2 separate regions of the Homo sapiens genome follow, and region 2 is linked to region 1. The links are contacts of gene promoters, found by promoter capture Hi-C in human tissues and cell types (Jung and others, 2019). All regions are on one chromosome and are shown on one strand. The core of a region is centred on a gene start or on the middle of the fragment in contact, and the rest is flanking DNA. Distances in the headings are between cores, read along the strand shown.

What was found. The method cuts DNA at HindIII sites, captures the fragments that hold promoters and counts their contacts. A contact is called where the count stands out against the background at its distance.
Region 2: a contact is called between a fragment that was not itself captured here and the fragment with the promoter of MANBAL in region 1, in 1 of the 25 tissues and cell types used here (mesenchymal stem cells).

Annotation. Positions count from the first base shown.
Region 1 is chr20:37,286,517-37,292,229 of GRCh38, forward strand. It overlaps MANBAL (mannosidase beta like), which reads left to right and starts at 3,139. Exons shown (of 3, transcript NM_001003897.2): 1 at 3,139-3,170. RefSeq lists enhancers at 2,927-3,036, 3,109-4,013, 5,242-5,351. The HindIII fragment of the contact is 10,035 bases long and covers 1-5,713 here.
Region 2 is chr20:37,783,267-37,788,979 of GRCh38, forward strand. The region is part of intron 10 of CTNNBL1 (catenin beta like 1); the gene reads left to right. Among named protein-coding and RNA genes, the nearest start is that of CTNNBL1, 92 kb to the left of the region's middle. RefSeq lists enhancers at 2,477-2,978, 2,979-3,478, 5,194-5,713. The HindIII fragment of the contact is 3,918 bases long and covers 135-4,052 here.

The sequences.
Region 1 (5,713 bases), core at 1,889-4,388:
CTTCTGAGGGCTGTGAGGAGCCTGTCCCATGCCTCTTGACTAGCTTCTGGTGGCCTGCTGGCAATCTGTGGTGTTCCTTGGCTGTAGAGGCATCGTCCCGATATCTGCCTTCATCTTCACATGACGTTCTCTCTATGTGTGCATCTGTGTCCATGTTCCCCCTCATTTAAAATAAACTATTTCCTTTTTTAGAGACAGGGTCTTGCTCTACCACCCAGGCTGGAGTGCAGAGGTGCGATCATAACTCACTTCAGCCTCCAACTCCTGAGCTCAAGCGATCCTCTCATCTCAGCCTCCTAAAGTGCTGGGACTACAGGCAAGAGCCATCGCGCCCTGTCAAAATTTCCCCTTTTTATAAGTACAGCAGTCATACTGGATTAGGGACTACCCTAACACTCTCATTTTAACTTGATTACCTTTGTAAAGCTCCTATCTCCAAATAAGATCCCATTGTGAGGTACTGGGGGTTACGGCTCAAACACAGCTTTTTGGAGGGACACAATTCAACCCAGAAAACACTCTCCTCACTCACACCCTGCAGTGTGTCTCTCCAGGGCAAGTAGTAAGTCCTGTCCTAAACATCTGCACCCTGCAGGCCTCAGTGTCACCCCCTCAGCTATTCTTAGGCTCCAAGCCGTTTCTCACTACCCAGCCTTTCCACCACCCATCGTGCTTTTTCCTCCTTCTCTTTGCCTGGCAAAGTCCTCCTCATTCTTCATTTCTTTTTTTGAGATGGAGTATTGCTTTGTTGCCCAGGCTGGAATGCAGTGGTGCGACCTCGGCTCACTGCAACCTCTGCCTCCTAGGTTCAAGCAATTGTCCTGCCTCAGCCTCTCAAGTAGCTGAGACTACAGGTGCACACCACCATGCCTGGCTAATTTTTTGGGTATTTTTTGTAGAGACGGGGTTTCGCCATGTTGCCCAGGCTGATCTCAAACTCCTGGGCTCAAGCAATCTGTCCACCTTAGCTTCCCAAAGTGCTGGGATTATAGACGTGAGCCACCACTCTTCATTTCTTACCAGAAATGTGATCTCATGGACGTCTTCCCTCATCACCTCTCTTTTGATTGTATCTCCCATGTTATTGCTTCTCTCATGGCTCCCCCTTCTTCCTTCCCAACACATCTCATGGTTTTTAAGTGTACATTTATCTGTGTGATTGATTAGTGGGGGTGACAGACATTGACCCCTAGTCTATAAGCACAGTCAGGGTAGGATCCCACCTACTCACCATTGTCTTCCCAGTTTCATAGTGCATGATCCAGAGTAGAAACTCCATAAATATTTTTTAAATGAATAAATTATGCATTTTGGGTCCCCCATGCCACCTCACATAGTATGGGATTAGTGAATGTTGAGTGTATTATTTGTCTTCTAAGAGACTGAATTCCTTTAGGGCAAGATAGGTCTCTCTCTCTCTCTTTTTTTTTTTTGGAGTCTCTGGTATCTAACCTCTGTTCCTTGATCCTCTATGTATGTTATCTAGGCTGCATAACCAATTATCCTAAAACTTAGGAGCTTAAAACAATAACATTTAGTATTTCACAATTTCTGTGAGGCAGGCATTCAAGTGGCATTGCAAGGTATTTCTGGCTCAAGGTTGCTCTTGAGTTTACACTGAAGATTTTGGCCAGGCCACAGTCATTTGAAAGCTTGACTAGGACTGCTGGAGCCACTTGGCTCATACACATGGCTGGCAAGTTGGAGCTGGTTGTTGGCAGGCAGCTCAGTTACTCCCCATGCGAGCCTCTCCATAGGACTGCTTGAGTGTCTTCACAACATGGATTCCCCATGAGCAATCAAGACAGAGGAAAGAGGAAGTTGCAATGTCTTTTATGACTTTATCTTGGAACTCGTGCTCCAAGATTTCCGCAATATCCTATGGGTTATACAGGTCAGTCTTATTCTTGGTGGGAGGTGACTACAGAGGGGTATGGATATCAGGAGCCAAGAATCGTCAGGGTTTATGGTGGAGGCTGGTTATCACACTCTCATCTAGGTTTCTTTTTCTCCTACTACTTGCCCCCCACCCCTTCTTAATCATGGAACACTGTTCTTTGCCTTCAAAAAACTTATCCTGTTATATGATTACACATTCATTTAATTAGTCTGTCTCCCTCCAACGGACTGTAAGCACCACAAGGGCAGAGACTGTATGTGTCTGCTTTAGCACTGTGTCCTCAGTTACAAGGACAAAGCATAGAGTACGCGCTCAGTGAATGCTTTTTGAATGAATTATAATGATTTGCTTCTGTCTGAATTACAAGAGGTGTTTCTGTTTGTCTCCTCTCTGCATTGTAGGCTCCTAGCTCAGGACCTGGCATAAAATTAAGGAAATGAACGTGAGAAACACTTTTGAAATAGTGACAACACATCCAGATGAACATTTTGCAGGACAGCTACACACCCGTTTTAGCTCACCAGCTACCAGTTGTGACTGTGCTCTGCTCTGGGAGATGGCTTAGCTTTGCATAGGACAAAATTCTAATCTAGTTTCGCGCAGTTCTTACGAATTTGTTACAATGAGACGGGCCAAGCTATACAGCCCATTGCGATGAATAAGTAACTTTTTTTTTTTTTTTTTTTTTTTTTTGAGGAAGAGTCTCATTCTGTCGCCCAGGCTGGAGTGCAGTGGCGCGATCTCGGCTCACTGCAACTTCTGCCTCCCGGGATTCAAGAGATTCTCTTGCCTCAGCCTCCCAAGCAGCTGGGATTACAGGCGCCCGCCACCACGCCCGGCTAATTTTTGTATTTTTGGTAGAGACGGGGTTTCACCATGTTGACCAGGCTGGTCTCGAACTCCTGACCTCAAGTGATCCGTCCGCCTCGGCCTCCCAAAGTGCTGGGATTACAGGCGTGAGCCACCGTGCCCAGCCCCGAGAAGTAATTTCTTTTGTTTTCTTTTTAATTAAACAAAAATGTTGCTGAAACGAGCTGAGTGATATAGGAGCTTAAAGAATTGACAAGCTCTAGATTTCATTTCCCCAAACCTCTTTGTCCAGCTCGAACCCACAGAACAGGGACAAAAGTCGACAAAACCCAGCGGTGCCTCACCCAGAAACCTGGCAACGCGGGCGGAACAGAGCCGGTTGGTTGCTCAGTGCGCGTCACTTCCGGGACTCAGGGTCGCAGGGAACTACTTCCGGGGGAGCGGCGCGGCGGCGCGGGAGGTGAGTGCCGCAGCTTTGCGGTGGGGTGGGAACCGAGAGAGAGCCGTCCTCGGTGCGGTGGCCTGGCTTTCCCGGCCGGCCTGTCTCCAGCGGCGCCGCTTGGTGGGCCCGGCTGTCGCTCCGCTCAGGGCCTGAATACGTTCCCTCGGCGGTTGTTCGAAAGTTACTTCCGGAGGGGAATTTGAGCCCCCCGGGAGGCGGAGGGCCTCGCCTGGGGCAGCCCTGCGCTTTCGTGCGGAGGCTGGGCCAGAACCCAGGGCTCCTCATGGCCTGGTCCGGGCCTTTCCTCCCACGGGTGGAGCAGTAGGAGAACCCTGAGCTCCAGAGTGAATCTGGCCAGGGTTCGAATCCGTATGGCTCTCTTACCGTGGGCAAGTCACGGTTCCTCTCTGGCCCTCAGTTTCGTCTTCTAAAATGGACATACACGCTTGTACTGCGGGGTAAACCGAGGTGGTGAATGTAAAGCCCTTAGTAGGTGCACAGTCCATGTTTGTTGTACGAATTCTAAGAGAAGCGAGAAATGAATATGAGAAACATTTTTAAAATGGTGACAACACATTTAGATTAATAATTATATTTTGCAGGGCATCTGCACACCAGTTTCAGCCCACCGGCTACCAGTGTGACTTTGCCCAGAGAGGTGGCTTAGCTTTGCATTCTAATCTAGTTTTGCGTGGTTCTTAGGAATTTGTTTTAATGGGACGGGCCAGGCTGTACAACCCATTGCCATAAAGCGGTAACTTCTTTTTCTTTCCTTTTTTTTTTTTTAAAGCCATTCTATTTATTTATTTAGAGACGGAGTCTCTCTCTCGTCCACGCTGAAGGGCAGTGGCGGGATCTTGGCTCACTGCAACCTCCGCTTCTTGGGTTCAAGCGATTCTCCTGCCTCAGCTTTCCGAATAGCTGGGATTACAGACGTGTGCCACCACGCCCGGCTAATTTTTGTATCTTTAGTAAAGACAGGGTTTCACCATGTTGGCCAGGCTGGTCTCAAACTCCCGACCTCAGGTGATCCACCCGCCTCGGCCTCCCAGAGTGTTGGGATTATAGGCGGGAGCCACCACACCCGGCTTTTTTTTCTTTTTAATTAAAAAAAAGTTGAAATAGAGATGGAGTCTCACTATGTTTTCCTGCCTGGTCTTGAACTCCTGGAGGCAAGATATCCTTCCTCCTGGACCTCCCAAAGTGTTTGGGATTACTGGCAAGAGCCACTGTGCCTGGCCTAAAACAGTAACTTCTGACACTGGTTTCTATTCCCCAGTCTGTTTTCAGCTGAATTTTCACAATAGAATTTAAAGTTACTTCATTAGAAGCCAAGAATGGCCTACCAGCACAGTACACAACATTGGGAGATGAAGGCCTGTGGCAGTCGTGAAATCTGAGTTTTTCAGTCTTAAGAGAAGATTTAGTATTTGCTAAGTCTTGAGAGCTATACTTGTCTCAGTGGTTTTTTATTTATTTGTTTTGAAATGTTGACCCATTCTTTTTTTCCCCAATAACCTTTTTGTTTTAGAATAATTTTAGATTTACAAAGTTATCGCAAAGATACTTCAGTGAGTGCCCATATAGCCCACGTTTCCCCTATTACTAATATCTGAAATGTCACAATTACTGAACCAATATTGATACATTATTATTAACTCTAATCTGTACTTTATTCACATTTCCTTAGTTTTTCCCTAATGTCCTTTTTCTGTCCTGGTATTATCCAGGGCACCCTATTACATTTAGTCATCATATCTCTTTAGGCTCATCATCTCTGTGATCGTTTCTCAGACTTCCCTTGTTTTAGATGAACTTGAGGGTTTTGAAGATAGTACTGACTGGTCAGATATTTTGCAGAAGGACCTTTAATTAGGATTTGCCTGTTTTTGACATGAGTAAGATCAGGGTAATGGGTTTTTGGGGAGGAGGACCACTGATAGGGTTCGGCTGTGTCCCCACCCAAATCTCATCTTGAATTGTAGCTCCCATAATCCCCCCATGTTGTGGGAGGGTCCTGGTGGGAGACAATTGAATCATGGGGGTGGGTCTTTCCCATGCTATTCTCCTGATAGTGAATAAGTCTCAGGAGATCTGATGGTTTTATAAAGGGCAGTTCCCCTGCACACACTCTCTTGCCTGCTGTCACATAAGACATGCCCTTGCCTCCCCTTTGCCTTTTGCCGTGATTGTGAGGCCTACCCACCCATGTGGAACCGTGAGTCCGTTAAACCTCTTTTTCTTTATTAATTACCCAGTCTCGGGTATTTCTTCAAAGTGGTATGAAAATGGACTAATCCAACCACAGAAGTAAAGTGCTATTCTCATCACATCATATCAAGGGTACATACTATCGATATGAGTTATCATTGTTGACATCTGTTAGCTTGAGCCACCTGGCTTGAGGTAGTAGTCAGGCTTTTCCAGTGTAGAGTTACTTTTCCTCCTGCACTTTCCGCACTGTACTTTTGGAGAAAGTCATTATGTACAGCACACATTTAAGGAGTGTGGAATTATGCCCCATGCTTAAAGGCAGAGTATATAATGCAAATTATTTGGAG
Region 2 (5,713 bases), core at 844-3,343, 500 kb after region 1:
TTAATCTGGCTAAAGGTTTATTGATTTTGTTTATCTTTTGAAACCTAACTTTTAATTTTGTTGATCTTTTTTATCTTTTTTTGTTTGTTTCATTTATTTCTGCTCTGATCTTTATTATTTCTCTTCGTCTACTAATTATGGGTTTGGTTGGCTCTTACTTTTCTAATTCTTTAAGATGTATTGTTAGGTTGTGTATTTGAAGTTTTTCTACTTTTTTGTTGTAGGTGCTTATTGCTATGAACTTTCCTCTTAATACTGCTTTTGTTGTATCCCATAAATTTTGGTATGTTGTGTTTCCATTTTCATTTGCTTCAGACTGTTTTAATTTCTTTCTTAATTTCTTCATTGGCCCACTGGTTATTCAAGAGCATATTGTTTAATTTCTGTTTGAATAGTTTCTGGAATTCCTCTTGTTATTGATTTCTAGTTTTTTTCCATTGTGATCAGAGAAGATACTTGACAGAATTTCAGTTTTCTTGTATTTTTAAAGAATTGTTTTGTGGCCTAACACATGAACTATTCTTGAGAATGACCCATGTGCTAAGGAGAAGAATGTGTATTCTGCAGCTTTTGGATGATATGGTTTGTCACTATCTATTAAGTCCATTTAGTCTATACTGCAGATGAAGTTTGATGTTTGTTGATTTTCTGTCTGGATGTTTGATCCAGTGCTGAAAGTGGGGTGTTGAAGTCTCCAGCTTTTATTGGGATCTGTCTCTCCCTTTAGCTCTAATAATATTTGCTTTATCTATCTGGGTGCTCCAGTGTTGGGTGCATATATATTTATAATTGTTATATTCTTTTGCTGAATGGGTCCCTTTACCGTTATGTAATGACCTTCTTTGTCTCTTGGTCTAATTTTTGTCTTGCTATCTATTTTGTCTGATTTAAGTCCAGTTCCTCTTGCTCTCTTTTGGTTTTCATTTGCATAGAATATCTTTTTCCATCCTTTTATTTTCAGCCTATATGTGTCTTCATAGGTGAAGTGTGTTTCTTGTAGGCAATGGATTGTTGAGTCCCATTTTTTTAATCCATTCAGCCACTCTATATCTTGTGACTGGAGAGTTTCGTCCATTTATATTCCATATTATTATTGATAAGTAAGGACTTAATCCTGCCATTTTGTTATTTGTTTTCTGGTTGTTTTGTGGTGTTTCCTTCTCTTTGTGAAGGTGATTTTCTCATATGGTATGTTTTAGTTTCTTGCATTTTATTGTTTGTGTATCTGTTGCATGTCTCTTGACATTACCATGAGGCTTGCAAATACTATTTAATAACCCATTATTTTAAACTGATGACAGGCTTAACACTGATTGCAGAAACAAACTGACAAGCAAAGAGAAAACTAATAAAAACTCTACACTTTAACTTCACCCTTCCACTTTTTAACTTTTTGTTGTTTCTGTTTATATCTTATTATACGGTCTATGTCTTGAAAAGTTGTTGTAATTATTTTAATAGGTTCATCTTTTAGTCTTTCTGCTCAAGGTATGTGTAGTTTATACGCCACAATTACAGTGTTATAATATTCTGTGTTTTTCTGTGTACTTATGGTTACCAGTGGGTTTTGTACCTTCAGGTGATTTCTTATTGCTCATTGGCATCCTTTTCTTTCAGATTGAAGAACTACCTTTAGCATTTCTTGTAGGATGGGTCTGGTGTTGATGAAATCCCTCAGCTTTTGTTTGTCTGGGAAAGTCTTTATTTCTCCCTCATGTTTGGAGGATATTTTCACTAGATATACTATTCTAGGGTAAAATATAGTTCCTTCAGCACTTTAAATATGTCATGCCACTCTTCCCCTTTAAATATGTCATGCCACTCTTCCCTGGCCTGTAAGGTTTCCACTGAGAAGTCTGCTGCCAGACATATTGGAACTCCATTGTATATATTATTTCTTTTCTCTTGCTGCTTTTAGGATCCTTTGTTTATCCTTGACATTTGGGAGTTTGGTTATTAAATGCCTTGAGGTAGTCTTCTTTGGGTTAAATCTGCTTGATGGGGTTTTGTAACCTTTTGTTCTTGCATATTGATATCTTTCTCTAAGTTTGGGAAGTTCTCTCTGATTATCCCTTGGAAAAGACTTTCTACCCCAATATCTCTATCTCCTCTTTAAGGCCAGTAACTATTTGATTTGCCCTTTTGAGGCTATTGTCTAGATCTTGTAGGTGTGCTTCGTTCTTTCTTATTCTTTTTTTCTTTTGTCTTTGACTGTATTTTCAAATAGCCTGTCTTCAAGCTTACTAATTCTTTCTTCTCCTTTATCAGTTCTGCTGTTAAGAGACTCTGATGCATTCTTCAGTATGTTGCATTTTTCTGCTTGATTCATTTTAACTATTTCAATATCCGTAAAATGTAATAGGATTTTGCGTTCCTTCTGTGTTATCTCAAATTTCATAAAGCTTCCTCAAAACGCTATTTTGAATTTTTTATCTGAAAGCTCACATATCTCTGTCTTGCTGGCATTGTCACTGGTCTCTTACTTAGTTCATTTGTTGAGGTCATGTTTTCTTGGACGGTCTTGATGCTTATGGATCTTTGTCGGTGTCTGGGCATTGAAGAGTTAGGTATTTATTGTAGTCTTTGCAGTCTGGGCTTGTTTGTATTCATCCTTCTTGGGAAGGCTTTCCAGGTATTTAGAGAGTCTTGGGTGTTGTGATTTAAGTCTTTGGTCACAGCAGCTGTGTCTGCATTAGGGGGCATCCCAAGCTCAGTAACACTCTGGCTCTTGTAGACTTGTAGAGGTACCACCTTGGTGGTGTTGGGTAAAATCGAAGAGAATTCCCTGGATTACTAGGCAGAAACTCTTGTTCTCTTCCCTGACTTTTCCCCAAACACGTGGAGTCTCTCTCTCTCTCTGTGCTGAGCTGCCTGGTGCTGGGGGAGGGGTGAGACAAGCAAGCACCACTGTGGCCACCACTGGGACTGTGCTGGGTCATTCCTGAAGCCAGCACAGCACTTGGTTTCACCCAAGGCTCACATTGACCACTGCCTGGCTGCTGCCTGTGTTCATTCATGGCCCAAAGGCTCTACAGTCAACAGGTGGCAAGTCCAGCCAGGCTTGTGTCCTTCCCTTCAGGACAGCAAGTTCCCCCCAGCCCCAGGCAGCTCTACAGATGCCATCTGAGAGCCAGAGCCTGGACTTGGGAACCTTAGAAATCTACCTGATGCTTTACTCTATTGCGACTGAGCTGGCACCAATTGGATTTGTTTTTTTTGGAGGGCATCTTTTTTTAGAGAACCAACTCTTGGTTTTGATATAAATATGCATATGTATGTGTGTACATATATATATATATGCATATATGTGTGATATAAATATGCATATGTGTATTTGTATATATATGGTCTACAATGCTTGTAGCATTTTGTATATTTGTATACCTTTCCCCCGCCTTTAATTCTTTTTTTCTACTTTTTTGTTTATTCTGTTGCCCTTTTTCCAAGTTTGTGAGTTAAACGCTTAATGCTTTAAAAAATAATTCTCTTATTTAAAAATAAAAACATTTCAGGTTAAAAAATCTCCTTTTAATATTGCTTAGTTTTATTCTCTATTCCCAAGTGATTAAGTCTTATTTTCCTATTACATTAACAGAAAATAGAGGCTATAAAATACATTTCTGAATTTGAGATTTTGTTTGTGGCCTTATACTTGGGTAGTTTTTATAAATATTCCGTGAACATTTGAATAGAATTTGTGTTTCTAGGGTATAAAGTACTATAATTATAACATAAATCAACTTTGTAAACATATTCCGTTCTTTTCTGTCCTTTTTATCCCCTAATTTGTTTAGTCTCTAACTATGGTTGTGGATTTTTTTTTTTCTGTTTCTTCTGATCCTTCCTATATCCTTAGCATTTTTTTTTTTTTTAAGAGACAGGATTCCACTATGTTGCCCAGGCTGAAGTGCAGTGGCTGTTCACAGGAGGCAATCACAGTGCACTGCAGCGTTGAAGTCTTGGGATATGATGATCCTTCCAAGTAGCTGAGATTATAGGCACCTGCTACCACACACCTTTACTTTTTATGTCATTTTGTGTTACGTGTAACTCTTGTTAAAGACACATAACTGTGTGTTTTTTTTTTTTTTTTTTTGAGACGGAGTCTCGCTCTGTCGCCCAGGCTGGAGTGCAGTGGCGGGATCTCGGCTCACTGCAAGCTCCGCCTCCCGGGTTCACGCCATTCTCCTGCCTCAGCCTCCCAAGTAGCTGGGACTACAGGCGCCCGCCACTACGCCCGGCTAATTTTTTGTATTTTTAGTAGAGACGGGGTTTCACCGTTTTAGCCGGGATGGTCTCGATCTCCTGACCTCGTGATCCGCACGCCTTGGCCTCCCAAAGTGCTGGGATTACAGGCGTGAGCCACCGCGCCCGGCCCATAACTGTGTTTTTTAATCCAGCGTGAAAGTTTGTCTTTCAGTAGATGAATTTAACTATTTGATTTTATAGTAATTACGTTTAGCCCTTTTCCTGTTTGTTTTATGGTTTCCTTGGTTGTTTTATTGTTTTGTCTTATCTTTTTTTCACTTCCATTATTTTCCTTCTTCTTTGGAGATTTGGAAAATACTATTCTTTCTATTAGTGATTACCTTTAGTTTTTTAGAAATGTGGCTTTATTTCTTTGTCTATGAACGTTTGAAATTGTTTCTAGTCCCCTCAAGATCTGGCCTCTGCCTCATCCTCCTACTGCCATCTCTTTCATTCTTTCCTTTCTGCACATTTACATTCCACTCTCTAAACCAAACTATTTTAGATCCCTTGACACATTTTGTTATTATTATTATTTTGATGACTCACTTTTGATGTTTAGGCTTAAACTTCTCTAAGCAGCCATTTTCTTCCATGTCTCTTCCCCCACGTCTGTCCTCACATCCCCACCCCTAAGTTTTGAAGGTTGGGTGCTAGCATCCTTTGCTGCCTCTGTCAGAGCACTTTCTGCACCATGCATGGTAAGTTGTACGGCTGTGTCTTCAATTGTACTGTAATACTTTTCAGAGTAGAGACAGAGTCTTCTTCCTCTGTATCTCCAGTATCTAGCAAAAGATACACCTTTGGTTTTCTGTGTTTGGTTTCTTAATTTTCTAAATTAATGAGAAACATTTTGCTGTTTAGGATCATTGGCCCACGGAATTTTTGGCAAACCGTGTTCATAGACCCAAAGGAAGAGGAGTTAAAAAGCCTGTTGCCGAGAACTCAGTCTCTTGCCTGAACATATTTAGTTCTGTTTTCCCTGTCAAATTTTTCAGTGCATGGAAAGCACAAAACGGGGCCATAGTGTGTTGTAATCCTGATCTTGAGGCTCAGGGGAGGCTAGGAGTCCACTCGAGTCCTGGGCTCCTGCCCTGTTTGGCCTGTGCCCATGCTGGGCTTCAGAACAGAAGCTGCATAAGCTCCCCAAATGAGCTTATTCTCCTTTGCCTTTCAACTCTCTTCTTCCGTTATCCTCCCAGGTATTTAGGATTATATTAGGTTTTCAGTTCTTATCACCTTTCTTCTCAAGGTTCTAAGAAGTCCTTCATGCAGATTTGTAGTCTCTGAGCTTTCATTTCCAGGAGCTGTTTGTGAAGCACTATTACCTACTCGCCCTTACCTCACAGCCCTCTCTCCTCTAGTTTTCCCTGTCACACAGGTGACTTTTCTCCATTCCTGTGTTCAAACTGTCTGGATTTCACAGTGCTTGACAGAATCAATAAGAAGAAAAGCTTTCTTGTTT